Linked DNA regions of Homo sapiens: region 1 is linked to region 2. Evidence: promoter capture Hi-C in 16 types of primary human blood cells and fetal thymus (Javierre and others, 2016). All regions are on one chromosome and are shown on one strand. The core of a region is centred on a gene start or on the middle of the fragment in contact, and the rest is flanking DNA. Distances in the headings are between cores, read along the strand shown.

The links. Contacts are between HindIII fragments. The CHiCAGO score rates a contact against its expected background, and 5 or more counts as called.
Region 1: a contact is called between a fragment that was not itself captured here and the fragment with the promoter of PRELP in region 2, in 2 of 17 cell types (M2 macrophages and M1 macrophages). The highest score is 6.8, in M2 macrophages.

The regions. Positions count from the first base shown.
Region 1 is chr1:203,376,461-203,383,751 of GRCh38, reverse strand. It overlaps LOC102723529 (a long non-coding RNA gene), which reads right to left. Exons shown (of 7, transcript XR_922438.3): 4 at 4,967-5,105; 5 at 3,682-3,849. Among named protein-coding and RNA genes, the nearest start is that of BMNCR, 28 kb to the left of the region's middle. The HindIII fragment of the contact is 4,003 bases long and covers 1-3,896 here.
Region 2 is chr1:203,471,463-203,478,388 of GRCh38, reverse strand. It overlaps PRELP (proline and arginine rich end leucine rich repeat protein), which reads right to left and starts at 2,583. Exons shown (of 3, transcript NM_002725.4): 1 at 2,451-2,583. The HindIII fragment of the contact is 1,499 bases long and covers 2,220-3,718 here.

The sequences.
Region 1 (7,291 bases), core at 646-3,145, 94 kb after region 2:
GAAGAGTAAAACCCTTACACCAAAGATGGCAGAGAGCATGCTCAAAAGATGCTGGCTTCCCCCAAGCAAGACGATTGCCTACTGCAGAAAGCTCTGAGTGGGACTGCAGGGCGGCTCAGGAGGACAGCAGGGAGAGGTCTGTCATTCCGCTGTGCAGTGTGGCCTCTTCCTCCTGCCATCATCCCTGCACCCACCCTTCATGCTGGCTATTACATAAACAAATCATAAAATAAAATATTAATTTAAAAAAAAAACAGAGGAAGAGAAGAAAAGAAAATTACAACGAAAACTTTAAAGTCAGGAAGAGGGCTGGGGACAGTGGCTCACACCTGTAATTCCAGCACTTAGGAGGCCGAGGCGGGTGGATTGTGTGAGGTCAGGAGTTCAAGACCAGCCAGGCCAACATGGTGAAACCCCATCTCTACTAAAAATACAAAAATTAGCCAGGCGTGGTGGTGCACACCTGTAATTCCAGCTACTCAGGAAGCTGAGGCAGGACAATGGCTTGAACCCGGGAGGCAGAGGCTGCAGTGAGCCAAGATCACGCCACTACACTCCAGCCTGGGCTCAATGAGTCAGGGGTGCTGGAGGAGCATTCCTAGAGAGAAGTATTTGGTGAAGAAGCCAACCAAATTTGGGGGTTGTGGAGATAGCCATGGGTGGATAGGGATGTGTGAAACAAGATGCTAATACACAACTCTTTCTTCCTCAGTTTTGAAGGAGAGCCCAAAGGCTTGGCGCAAACTGATAGGTGCAAAATGAGCCCACATTCCAGAGTGAGGGCTAAACCATCTACAAGGGACACACAACTGAGATATTGAAGAACCCACTTTACAACCCTGAGCACATCAAGCACTTACAGGTGTTAAAGATTGAGATGGAAAGTGGGGAGTAAGTGGAGAGAGACAGAACTTGATTTCCTTGGAGAAAGATGGAGAAATGTTCTGAGGAAGAAGCCTGCCCTTCACATGAAAACAAGTGATTGGGGCTTTCAGGAACCACTTGGCGACCATAATAGAAATAAGCGACTGGAGCTGGACCCACGCCTGCAAAGGTAATGAAGGCAAGAACCTGTGGCTGGTTATCTGCCTGGGCATAGCCAAGTAAAGACTGTTGTGTTGGGAAGTAGCCGTAATCCCATGACAGTAGGACCAAAATGCTGATGAGAGCCCAGCAAGGGATGGTGGCCTGGGGATGCTGTTCATATAGCCTGCCTGGAGGAACAATGGGGTCCCCACAAGAGTCTGTATGGTGTGGACTAAAGGATGCATAGGCGCTAAGGGAGGGGTGATGAATGGAGAGCTGGAGGAAAGGCAGGGTCAGTATCAAGGAAGCTGCCAGCAGAGAAGCCCAACCCCTGTGTAAGAAACCTATGTAAGACCCAAGAGAAGAAAGTCAGCTTTAAACACCTGCCAAGGCCAGAAAATTCTGTGCTATCCTACAACAGTACCAGCCGAGCAAGACCTTTCCTGCTCTTTGCATCTCCTCCCTCTCCCAGAGCAGCAGCCCCAGAGGACAAGAGGCAGCCTAGTGAGAAGGGGAGGAGGAGGAGATGTACACAGCAGGGAAACAGATGAAGTTCATCACCATCCATTATTCCCCACTGCAGCTCCTGGCCTGATGCAGACAAAGGCTGAGAGAGAGGAGAAGTTTAAATGTCATAAGAAATTTGGAGTTTTGATTCAGTAGAAAGGAAATAAGTGATGTTTCAAGAGGGAGAGGGGATATCAGCAGGACCAAAGGTCCCAAGTAGACAGGAGATGGGATCGATCCAATGTTTAAGTGGGGATGGGGGTGGGGGAGCTGCCTCAATAGGAGTAAGGGCTGTTGGTCCACTGTAGCTGGGGATTGAGGGCGTGGATTGACTAGGGAAGTGTAGCTGGACTTCCAGGCAGTTCTGAGCCTCGTTAGAGATGCATCATCTTGTATTCAGGGTAGAATCAGTCCACACGGTTGCGGTTTTCCTCTGGCCACGTTTGCTTTCTTGGAATGGTATAGAATGAGCAGAGAGCTGGATCTACATAAGGTTAGGGTTTTGCTGGGAAGGTATGTTGGAGGAAGACCAGGACATGCCCAAAGGGGTGGTTATGAAGGGCCATAGAATCTATACTGGGTTAGGAAGGAAGTGAAGACAGGAGGGGATGAAGGAAAATTTCAGGGCTAGGGTAGCAGAGGTCTTAATGAGTAGGAAGAATTGTGGGCGTGATTGTGACTATAGGCAGCCATTACAGAACAACCCTAAAATGGTAGAAACAAATCTATCAACACCATTCACTCCTACTTTCCCACCCATTGACCTCTTCATTTCTGATTATCTGTTGTTCTGACCCTCTGGTCCCTGGCATGTCCTGTTCATCCTTCAGCAAACTACTAGAGCCGTAAACCCTCCCCCAGTTCTTGGCATTGCAACAACACTAAGAGGGTTTCCCCTCCAACTTTCATTTCCTATTTTCTTTTGTCTTATAAATTTCCACTTCTGGACCTGTGTGCTTTTGATAAAGCTCAGTGATTTTTCAGAAGCTCAGAGGTCAGGACAGATGTGTAACTTTCCCTGACTCCAGTTGGGTAAAGTGTTCTGTCTCTCATGTAAGAATTTTTCCCATGAGAGAGTTCTGGGAGACAAGAAATATCCCAACTCCTCTAGACAAGCTGTAGGAAATAATGGAAAATCTTATGGCCACAGACCCACTAGCACCATCCTGCTAAACTGGTAAAGAGGCTAGAGCTTGAGACCTGGAAAATGCCAGGGTACTGCAGCCAGAGAACTATCCTTAGAGCACAAGGGTCCCGGAGGAATAAAGCTAGATGTTGCCAAGTTGTTTTGACTCTATAAGCTGAAGCATATACAGTCAGGAGCTGCCCAGGCAAGGCAGAACCTGCAACTTGTGTGCTGTGCTGTCTTGGTCAAGTACACATGGTGGGTAGAACCGAAAAAAAAAAAAAAAAAAACCCATACATGGTGTTTTTCAACCTCTGTTCTTTCCCAAGCAGGTGTCTATTCTGCCTTCTGAAGACAAAATCTCCTTAAGGAAGTAGAGCCCTCACTAAATCTCCCATGATACGCCCTGAGCTTCTAAAGGGAGTGATCTTAACACTGGCATATTTATTCTCTGACTCTAAGTAAAAGAGGGACTCCAGCAGCAGTGCTCCGGAGCCAGCCCATCCTGCCTTGCAAGAACTGACAGTGAAATTTTCCAGAACTCTGAGAGCCAGTTGTTAAAGGCATATGTCATTTGAAAATAAATTATATAAACTTAAAATTATATCACATTAAAAATAAAAGTAATAAGTACTCAAAACTCATCACTTGCTAATTATTTTACTGTATTGATTAGTATCTTCACTCTTGAGGTTACATACCCCCTACTGCATCTACGTGGTAGAAATACTCTGAAATGGGGTACTCCTGGGCATCTCCTCCTAACCCCACACTCAGTGACTTCACTTTGGTAGTTCCAAACAGGCCATGGAAATCAGCAAACACTGCAAGGCAATGCCCCACCCCTACCTCCCAGACAGCTGATTGTTAAACCTTTACCAGCACATCACTGGACTCCAGGGGCCCAGGAGGGTCAGTGGGAAGAACCACAGCTTCAGCCCACCCCAGGAGCCTGCCATTTTCCCTGTCTGGTGCATGCCCCCTCCCCTGTGCAGGGAGAGGGCAATACTGCATTTACTCACTTGAAGGGCATCTTGGCCAGATGGTTTCCCTCAGACAGTGGTGCTAAGGAGCTGGCTAGGAAAATATTTTCCCAACTCTGCCTGGCTTCCTTTGAACAGGAATAAAACTGGTTCTCAGAAATGCAGCCAGTAGGTAAGTAAATAAGGCAGCTGTGCTCCGAGTTCCAGCTGAAATAAATAAAACTTATGAGTCTGGTTTGCATAAAGAGAAAGCTTATGGATTCAGATTTTCCTCCCTTCCTGCCCTCTGGTCTCTCTCCTACAACAGGACCCCATGTGTGCCTGCATCGCCCTCCCCGCTTCCCCGGGGATGTGATCACCACCTGGTTGTTCATTGGCTATAGTACAGGATAAACTTGCAGCTTTCTGGACACTTGTTTCCAATGGTGGAGCTATTTATTTCTCTTTTCATAGTAGACATTGCCTAGCCTCCATGGGCCCTTTCAAGGGTCCATGTTCAAGGATCTCCTGTTCTGAGCTGGAATAACCCCCCAGCCCCTGAGTCCATTTGAAGTTAGGTCATTTCACTTGAGGGCCAAGGACAGAAGAAGGAGATGGGGAATCTAGCAGGTTTAGGAATTCAGCTAGATTTCTGACATGCCCTGAAAATAGGTGATTGCCTTTACTACCCTAAAATCTGATGGTGAATTAACCACACACAGATGTACTTTGCACATGCACTTCATGTGAGTATATGCCAGGGGCACTGCAGAAATAGCTCTATTTACTAGTTTCTATTTATTCACATTATGTGTTAGAGTGTGGTGTGTATGTGTATGTATGTGTTAGGGTGTGGTCTGTTGTGAACCCAGATGCAGGTATACATGTATGTGTGTAGACGGGCATATGTGAGGGTCATTTTCTAGATGCCTGGGCATTTAAACGTGTATGGAATTATGTGTGAGTAGCTATGTATGTTTCTCTGTGTCTTTGTATAGGCAGATGTGATTGTGTGCGTGCAGGACTGAGCCTCGTGACTTCTGAAAACCTGGTTGAAATGCTGGGAGAATGTCATCATCTTCTAAAAATAGAGGAGCTGAAATATTTTGAAGAAAGGATTGAACACACACACACATACACACACCCCCAAACACATTTCTGTTTTGAGATTCCCTATGTTCCCTTAAGCCCTGTGTGCAATGGAAAAACACCAAATATTTGCAGTTTTCTGTCATGATAAGGATTGTTGACTTCATCCAGGGACAGAATTTTATCACTCAGTTGTCAGGGGAAGGGTGTGGGAGGGGGCTCTGAAGGGGACAGGTTTAGATGAATCAAGCCTAACCTTGCTTCTCTGCATCTGATGCCATCTGTCTTTAAAACATCTTGGCCTGCTTCCCACCGTTCAAAGGGAAGGAGCTTGTCTCTAGCTGTGGATCCATTTGGCACACAGGCGAGGGAACAGAGGGGCCGTGGTCATCTTCCTTTTGAGGATAAGAAGACACAAAGACATGAGATCCTGTTGTAGCATAATGGGGTTAGAACCAACAGAAAACGTCTACTTCTTTATGAGTTGTGAGATATGATAAAGGCTTTCTGAAGTGTTTGTGAAGTCTGTTCCAGGTGATTCTGAGAGAAGACTCCTAGTTCTCTGAGATGAGTTAGAATCAGAATCACGGAGGTTCATACAATCATCAGAATGACCTCTGGAAGTTTTTGTTTGTTTGTTTTTTGAGACAGAGTCTCACTCTGTCACCCAGGCTGGAGTGCAGTAGTGCAGTCTCGGCTCACTGCAATCTCTACCTCCTGGGTTCAAGCGATTCTCCCACCCCAGCCTCCCAAGTAGCTGGGACTACAGGCGTGCACCATCATGCCCAGCTAATTTTTGTATTTTTAGTAGAGATGGGGTTTTGTCATGTTGGCCAGGGTGGTCTTGAACTCCTGACCTCAAGTGATCTACCTGCTTCGGCCTCCCAAAGTGCTGGGATTACAGGTGTGAGCCACTGTGCCCGGCCAACCTCTGGAATTTGTAAGAATCTTATGTTTATTGGGCATTTATTATAATAGCATGGATCACTGGCTTTGTGTATCAACATACTTAATTTCCATCACAATCATGTAAGGATAATTATTATCCTATTCCACAGGTGAGAAAAATAGCACACAGAGGTGGAGACACTTGTCCAAGGCCACAAAGCTAGTAAATGATGAAATAATTTTTGAATTTTAAAACATAATAAAGAGTTTAAGTAGAAGATTAAATATAGCTGAAGAGAAAATTAGTAAACCCGAAGAGAAATCTGAAGAAATTATTAAGACTAACAGAATACGTAAAGGCATGAAGCAATAATGGAAGATAGAATGAGAAATTGAATAAACATCTAATCAGAATTCCAGAAGGAGAGAAGACAGTGAATATTTGAAGAGAATTTCTCAGAGGAGAAACATGAGTCCATAGATAGAGGATACAACATATACCAAGCAGAATAAGCAAAACTAAATTCGTTACTAGACACATTTCAGAAAAACTGAAAAATAATAGAGTCAAAGAGATCTTATAACCAGTAAGACAGAAAAGAGAAATCACCTGCAAAATAATGGCATAGATTTATTGTATAATCCCCAAGAGTAATAACGGAAGCTCGAAGGAAGTGGAACCATATTGAGAGAAAGAAAAAACAAACCTCTCAACCTGAAATTGTGTACCTAGAAAAATCTGTTCTTCCTAAAGGAGGGTGAAATAAAGATATATTCATAACTCCAGGATTCCAGAACTCATGCTTTTTCCTCTACATTATACTGTTGCTACCAGTTCTCAGATAGTTTTAGATCTGAAGTTTTATAGTCAGTCATACTTCATTTTATTGTACTTTCCTTTATTGCACTTTGCAGACATGACTTTTTAAAAAACTTGAAGGTCGGTGACGACCCTGTGTCAAACAAATCTATTGGTGCCATCTTTCCAACAGCATGTGGCCACTTCCTGTCTCTGTGTCACATCTTGGTAATTCTCATATTATTTCGAACATTTTTATTATTATTATGCCTGTTATGGTGACCTGTGATCAGTGATCTCTGATGCTACTACTGTAATTGTTTTGTAGTATCATGAACCGCACCCACGTAAGATGGCAAACTCAATGGATAAATGTGTGTGTTCTGACTGCTCCCACCAGCTTTCCCCCATCTCTCTTCTTCTCCTTGGGCCTCCCTATTCCCTAAGACACACAACATTGAAATTAAGCCAATTAATAAACTTAGGATAGCCTCTAAGTGTTCAAGTGAAAGAGTCATGTCTCTCACTTTACATGAAAAGCTAGAAACTGTTAAGCTTAGTGAGGAAGGTATGTCCAAAGCTGAGATAGGCTGAATGCTAGGCCTCTTGTGCCAAACAGCCAAGTTTTGAATGCAAAGGAAAAGCTCTTGAAGAAAATTAAAAGTGCTATTCCAGTGAACACATGAATGATAAGAAAGAAAACAGCCTTACTCCTGATAGAAAGTTTTAGTGGTCTGGATAGATCAAACCAGCCACAATACTCCCTTGAGCCAAATCGTAATTCAGAGCAAGGCCCTAACTCTCTTCAATCCCATAGAAGAGGCTGAGAGAGGTCAGGAAGCTGCAGAAGCTAGCAGATGTTGGTTCATTAGGTTTAAGGAAAGAAGTCATCTC
Region 2 (6,926 bases), core at 1,334-3,833:
GGGGAAGAAACCAGGGTGAGACGACTCTTCTCTGACAGCCCGCCACCTACCATATCCTCTGCCCCATTCCCCCAGCATCTCCAAGCCTTGAAGAAAGCCTAGAAGAGTGTGTCTGATGCCTTGAGTGATTATAGATCTGAGACCCAATCCTGCAGTTCTTCATTCAGATGCTTAGCTAGGTAGGCTTAGGCAAAGCAATTGCTTTTCTGCTCTATAAAATGGGGATACTAACACCTTCTTTTCTGTTTTGAGGGTTAAATGAGTTAATACATGCAAAGTGAGTGTTTTCTGAATGTTAAGGTCTTGTTGATATTATTTCAAAGTAATGGGGTCTCCTTCCCTCCAGCCTGGCTAGAGGGCAGCCCCCATGCACTGCTCGAAGGCAGGGATCCTTGTGAGTGGGGTACCAGCTCTTCCACACAGAGCAACTTCCTCCCCTTTGTGGCTTGTGAGATCACACTTGGGTCTCAGAAACAACTAACTGAGGAGACTCTGGAAGTCCCCAGCCACCTAGGGAAAGCTTGTTCTGTCTTTCTAATTCACCAACTTCTCACCGATGCTTTCTGCAACAGGTGAGGGGACACTGGCCACAGAAGGTGCAAGTCTGCCTTCCTCAGTGGGCCATGGAGTTCCACTGCGATTCTTGACTTCTCCCAGCTTTTTGCCCCTTCCAGCCTTGAAATGCTTCACTCACATGCCCAATAAATGGGATTGCCCACTAGGGAGGTGGAGGGGGCATGAAGAAAGTGTTCAGCTCACCCTCTGTGAGAGCCCAGACAGGTGGCTGCTGGGAAGGAGGAGCAGGGACCTATAAGGGTCAGGGGAAGGGCCCAGCACATGCTCCTGGGGTCCTGGGGCAGGCAGATTAACAGGTGAGGGGAAACAGAAGCTCTGTGGAGCCATCTTGGGGGAACTTTCTTACTGGAATGTTCCTCTGTGGTATATATGGCTGCTTGTGCTTGCAAGGAGGAGAGAGGGAGACAGCTCTTCCCTGTTTACTCCCACTCCCCAAAAAAGAGGTGGCCTATTTGGGACACTCTGGTGCTCCTTTTCCAGGACACAGTCCTTCTGCCCAGCTAACACTGCCGGAGTCTTGGGCTTAAAAATTACAGCAAAGCTCTCTCTCAGGCCCCTGATTCTCGAGCCCTGGTGGACCATCAGAATCTCCTGAAGTATTAAAACAAGATTCCTGGGTCTCGATTCAGTAGATCTGCAGTGAGAGCCGACATCTGTATTTTTAGTAAGCCCTCCACACTCCTCCCTCTCCAGCCCTTAGGTGACTGTGAAGATCAGCTGTGTGTGGGACCCCTGATCTCCCTACACCCCGCCTGCCTTGGGACAGACCCTCTCTATTAATAGAGAGGAATGAGCAGGGGAGCAGGAGAGGGGCCGCCCTTCAGTTTTCCCCTCCCCAACTGCTTAAGGAACTGCTGCCTTTTTTTTTTTTTCTCCTCTGCCACAGGACCTTTTGCCAACCTAAATGGTTGGAATAATTTCAGAACGGCTTTAAAGAAAAATATTTTTCTGGCTGCCTGCAGGAAAAAAAAATAAAAAAATGAACTGTCCCCAGAGCTGGGAATTAGGACCTTCAAGGATTGGGAACTGGGTCGCTTTCTTCTTTCTTTCCAAAAGCCAAGTGGTTTGGACCAGTGAGACAGAAATTGAAAGCTGCTGAGAAGACACTGTGCAGGTTGGAAAAAGCCGTTTTTCTCTCCCTCCTACCCAGTGAAGCCCTAAATAATGAAGAAACCCTTCCAGCTCCCGCTCTTGCTTATCTCCTCCCTATTCGGCCTGGACTTGGGATGCAAGATTTTCTTCTGGCTCTGCCATCTCAGTGGGAAAACGTACTTTATCTTTGCTCTTACAGCTAGGGAGGTGTGTGTGAGAGGGCGAGAGACAAGATGCAGGGAACATGTGTGCATGCATGTGTGTGTGTGTCTGCTGGTGTCTGGTGATGATGTGGTCTAGCTCTGCATGTCAGATGCAGAGGGCAGAGGTGAATGGACAGGATGTCTTCATTTTGTATGGTCGTGTGGGGTGATGGTAGTGAACGTGCAGCCTCCGTGTGATGTGTGTGACTTCCACAATGTGTGACAATACACAAAAGGTGCAAAGAAATGGGTTCTGGAGTCCAGTTTCTATGGAAACACCTGATCTGTAGAAACACTTTGTGCAGCGTGGCTCTCTGTGCTACAACAAACATCTGCAGCAGGAAAGCTTAACTTTTGCAGTAAGCAAATATAGGGGTACAGAGTGATGAAAAGAAAAGGAAGAGGCTATAGGAAAGAAGTTAGGAAGACTAAATTTGAACTCATTTGAGAGGAGAAAGAGGTGGGAGGAAGGAAGGAGTGAGAGGATAGAGACTAGATCAATAAATGGACAGAGCTGGAGGAAACTTACTGGATGAAAGATTCTTCCCAGTCTCCTGCCCATCTCCCAACTGGGCTTACCTGCACACACCTGCCTCTCCTCTCAGCTCTGAGTTTAGTCCTCCTCTTCCACCCCCTCCCTTCGGCGGAGCTGTGGCAGCAGAGAGCCAGCTAGAAGATCTGATCTCCCAGTGGTGTGTGCGTGCTTGTGTTTGCCTGACTTTTCTTCCACCAGATCCTATTGGGGTGGGGAGGTTAGCTTGGGGGGAGGGAGGGGCAGATCATAGGGAGGGAGGGGAGGAGAGGAGGGAGGAGGGAGGGAGGGGAGGGGAGGAGAGAGGGAGGGAGCTTGGGAAAGGAGGAATGACAATAAAGTCTTTATTTGGCAGCCAAAACTCCCAAAGACTTCATCCACACACCATTCCCACTAACAGACTCATTTTTAATAACATTTCCTTCTGCTGCTGCCGCTTCTGGAGAGGGGTTGTTTGACCCATGTTTGGAAAACAAGCCAAATTAACAGAGTGAAAAGGCATGAAAAGCAACCTCTGTGTAAGCCAGGACTGGATGGCTGGGTCCAGCACTAGCCTGTTTAATTCCTCCTAACAATCGCCTTGCCTTCTGGGGCCGTTGCTCGGTAGTGTTAAATTCCTAAACCAGTGAGGGGTTTGGGATGCTTCCTCTGAGCAGTGACAGTCTTTCCCTAAGTTATCTTCTCCAGGAGGTTGCAAAGGGAGTGGAGTCTCAGGCTGGCATAGGAGATAACTTCGGTTTGGCTGCCAGGGCTGTTCTGAGAACCAGAGAGGGAGAAGTCTGGCCTGAGTTGCACAGCAAAGTTAAGGCAGAATTAAGATTTAATGTAAGACCTAAAGTCACTGTTCCTAGCTCATGTGGACAATGTAGTGGCTTCTTTCAGCTTCTCCATATCACACTTAGGTGAGATTTAGGGGCTGTGTGGTCATCACACAAAGTGATGGGAAATCCAAATTTCCCCTGTGCACATCAACACCCCAGAAGACCCAGTCAAGTAACACCACTACCTCTAACAATCCTCTAACAATGCCCCTCAATTAAGAAAGCACAACACACTTGCAGGTAAGTAGATGCCCATCAAAATTTCCTGCCATGGCCAGGCACAGTGGCTCACGCCTGTAATCCCAGTACTGTGGGAGGCAGAGGCAGGCGGATCACCTGAGGTCAGGAGTTTGAGGCCAACCTGGCCAACATGGTGAAACCCTGTCTGTACTAAAAATACAAAAAAATTAGCTGGGTGTGGTGGCGGGCATCTGTAGTCCCAGCTACTAGGGAGGCTGAGGCAGGAGAATTGCTTGAACCTGGGAGGCAAAGCTTGCAGTGAGCCAAGATCGTGCCACTGCACTCCAGCCTGGGCAACAAGAGCGTGACTCTGTCTCAAAAAATAAATAAGTAAATAAAATAAATAAATTCCTGCCATCCCAGCTGACTACTTAGAAAATGCAACGCAATTTTCTTCTCCATTATTGGTTCCATGGAGAGCTGCAGAGCCCCATGACAGGGGACTGCCTGCCTGCCCTCCGCAATATGGGGTAGAGGAGAGAACATTAAAATTAGGGTCTGCAGCCCTGGGCTCAGCCACCCACAAGCTATGGTCTTAGGTGAATCACTTGATCATGAGGACCTTCAGTTTCCTCATTTACAAAATATGGATAATATTGACCTCACAGGGTTGGGAAGATTAAATATTGTAAATGTGAGAGCACTTTATAAACTGGGAAGATATTAGGGTTTAGGAAAGGGATTGCGATGAATGGTAATTAGCCTAAGAAAAGGAGAAGGAAAAATAAAACCCAGACCTTTCTCCAACCCCCTTCCACCCCAGATCTCATGGCTTCACGCCCTGCTGGTGAGGTCTTGCTGGAAGACAGCACGGTTCCTCTCCAGGTTCACATTAACTGTGGCTCTGCCAGGCTGCTCATGTGCTTCATTTCTCATCCAGATGGGATATGGCGTCTTCTGCAGGCCGGGAACATCAGACGCCAGATTTGCTTGTTTCCCTTGGTATGGTGGGTGGTAGATGATAGAGGGCAAAAAAGACTGGCTGGGCACGGAGACTCATGTCTGTAATCCCAGCACTATGGGAGACGAAGGCAGAAGATTAATGGAGCCCAGGAGTTCGAGACCAGCCTGGGCCATATGGGGGGACCCTGTTTGTACAAATAATTTAAAAATTAGCTGGGTGTGGTGGTGTGTACCTGAAGTCCCAGCTACTTAGGAGACTGAGGTGAGAGGATTATTTGAGGCCAGGAGACCAAGGCTGTAATGAGCTATGATTACGCCAGTGCCCTCCAGCCTGGGTCACAGAGCAAGACCCTGTCTCAAAAAATAATAAGGTGAGCAAAGTACAGTGAGGTACAGGGATGATGGGTAGAGTGTCTGTGGGGATAGACAGACTGGAAGGAGTGTGGAGTATGGGCAGGGGCAGGGGTGTCACCTGTATCCATTTGTATGACAGCCATCCAAATCCCAAGAGTCTATGCTCTCGGGAATGGATGGCCAACTTCCAAGCCCTGCCTAAGCCAGTTATCTCCCTTCCTCCCTCTCCTATCTCCCGCATCCCACGCTATGCAGAGAGAATTGGAAAGAAGTATAGACATGGCCAGCAGGATATTCAGGAGTGTCCAGAATAGAGTTTGCTAATCAGTGGCTTGTGGACCTAATATGGCTTGAGTACCTAATTTTTTTTGACAGCACGTTAATTTTTTAAAAGTTTTGTGGAAATTTTAAAACGTATACATATTTACACAGTATAGTATTAATATCCCCATTATCTAATACCTAGCTTCAACAATTACCGACTCATGGCCAATCTTGTTTCTTCTGTGTTCCCCACTCCCACAAACCCTACTGGTATATTTTGAAGCATTGGTTAAAAAAAAAAAAAAGGATTTGAACACCTTTAGTCAGGACAAGCACTTCCCAGTTCAACACAGTCGCCATCCTGGTAGACAGGGGTCCAGGTTCTTGGGACCTGGCTTTGCCCCATTGCATGCTGTGTGACCTTGAAGATGTCTCTCTCCCTCTCTGACCTCAGTTTGCCATTTATAAAACACGAGGTTGTACCAAATGACCTCTCAGTGCTCTTCCAACAATACTGTGAAGAGAGAGTATAAGGTTTGGGGTTAGGAAACCTGGATTAAGATGTCAACTCTGCTGTTCTCTAGCTACCTGGTGAGTAGGTCTCAGCACACGAGCCTTGGTTTTCTCATCTGCCCCATCTCCCTCCCAGGGTATACCCAAGATAACACAAGGATCATTGGCAGCAATGGCAGGGGAGTATTTTGTGATTCACTGGCTTCATGCACCCTGGGACTATGTGGATCCTCCAGGAAGAGCCTCCTCTACTCTCCTAGAGTCTCAGGGACACCAGTGGTGTGTCTTCAACCCAGGGGAGGTATTTATCTCTTGCTGGTGTAGCCAGAGAACAGTCACAGGCACATGATGTGAATGCTGGGGCATATGGTGAGAAGTCCAGATATGCACATTGTTGCTGCTACTGCTGCCTGGTCCTAGGAGAGGGCTAGGGGCAGCATGGTTAGGAGACAGAATGCAGGGAGGGCCAGGCAGCAGAGGGAGGGGGCTCTCCAAGTTGGTGGGTTTCAGCTGCATTTGCAGAGTTGGGACCTGCCCACACTTCCCATCCAGACCGAAATCCATCTGGGGGGCTTACCATTTCTTTGACCCTCACAGTAATTGCTGCCTTGGTTACAAGCAGTGAGTGCTTAAAGCAAGAGAAGAAAGGACACAATTGTGTAATACTCTTTCCATAGAAGTACAGGAGGGAGGTACTCAAGCTTCCCACCTCCCCCGTGGTGGTCCTGAGACTTTGCCGGGAAGGAGCAGTGTGGGCCCGAAGAGTTTGGCTCAAACTGCTCAGTGGTCATCAGGACCCACAGAGGCTGGCCCTGGACGGACCCTCACCCTGTACTAGTTGAGGCTCCCAGTCCAGGGTGGGTGGGGTCTGGGCAAATGCATAACGGGGGAGAAGCTGTGTGAGTCCTGTGGCAGCCTGTCCCACCCTCCAGCCTGGGGGGCCTGGGTTGCCTGGGGTGAGTGGGCCCCTGCTGGGCAGAGACAGCATCCTGTTCATCATGGTATAACCCACAGCACCCACCAACGGCTTGGCACACCCTGGGTGCTCAGTAGGGGTCTGTTTCATTGAATTTAAGAGGGTTGAACAAGGAGATTCTCTGTCACCCTCTTTTTTTAAAAAAAGGTTATTATTTTTTGAATAGGTAATACATTCTCTTGATTGAAAATCTAAGAGGTATAAGAGCTTGCATAGGGAAAAAGTCTTTTCCCTTGCCTATCCCCTCATCACTCACTTTCCCCCAGAGGACCGTGCGCCAGTTTCTTGTGTCCTCACAGATTTATTTAAGGTACACACTAGTAACAAATAAGCAGCTATGCACTTTTATTTTCACTTAGTGGTACAGGTATCTTTTGAAGATGATCATATTGGTCCTTTTGGTGATTCTTTCTCTGCCCCCACCCCCCAATATTTATTTAGTTGACAGTCTC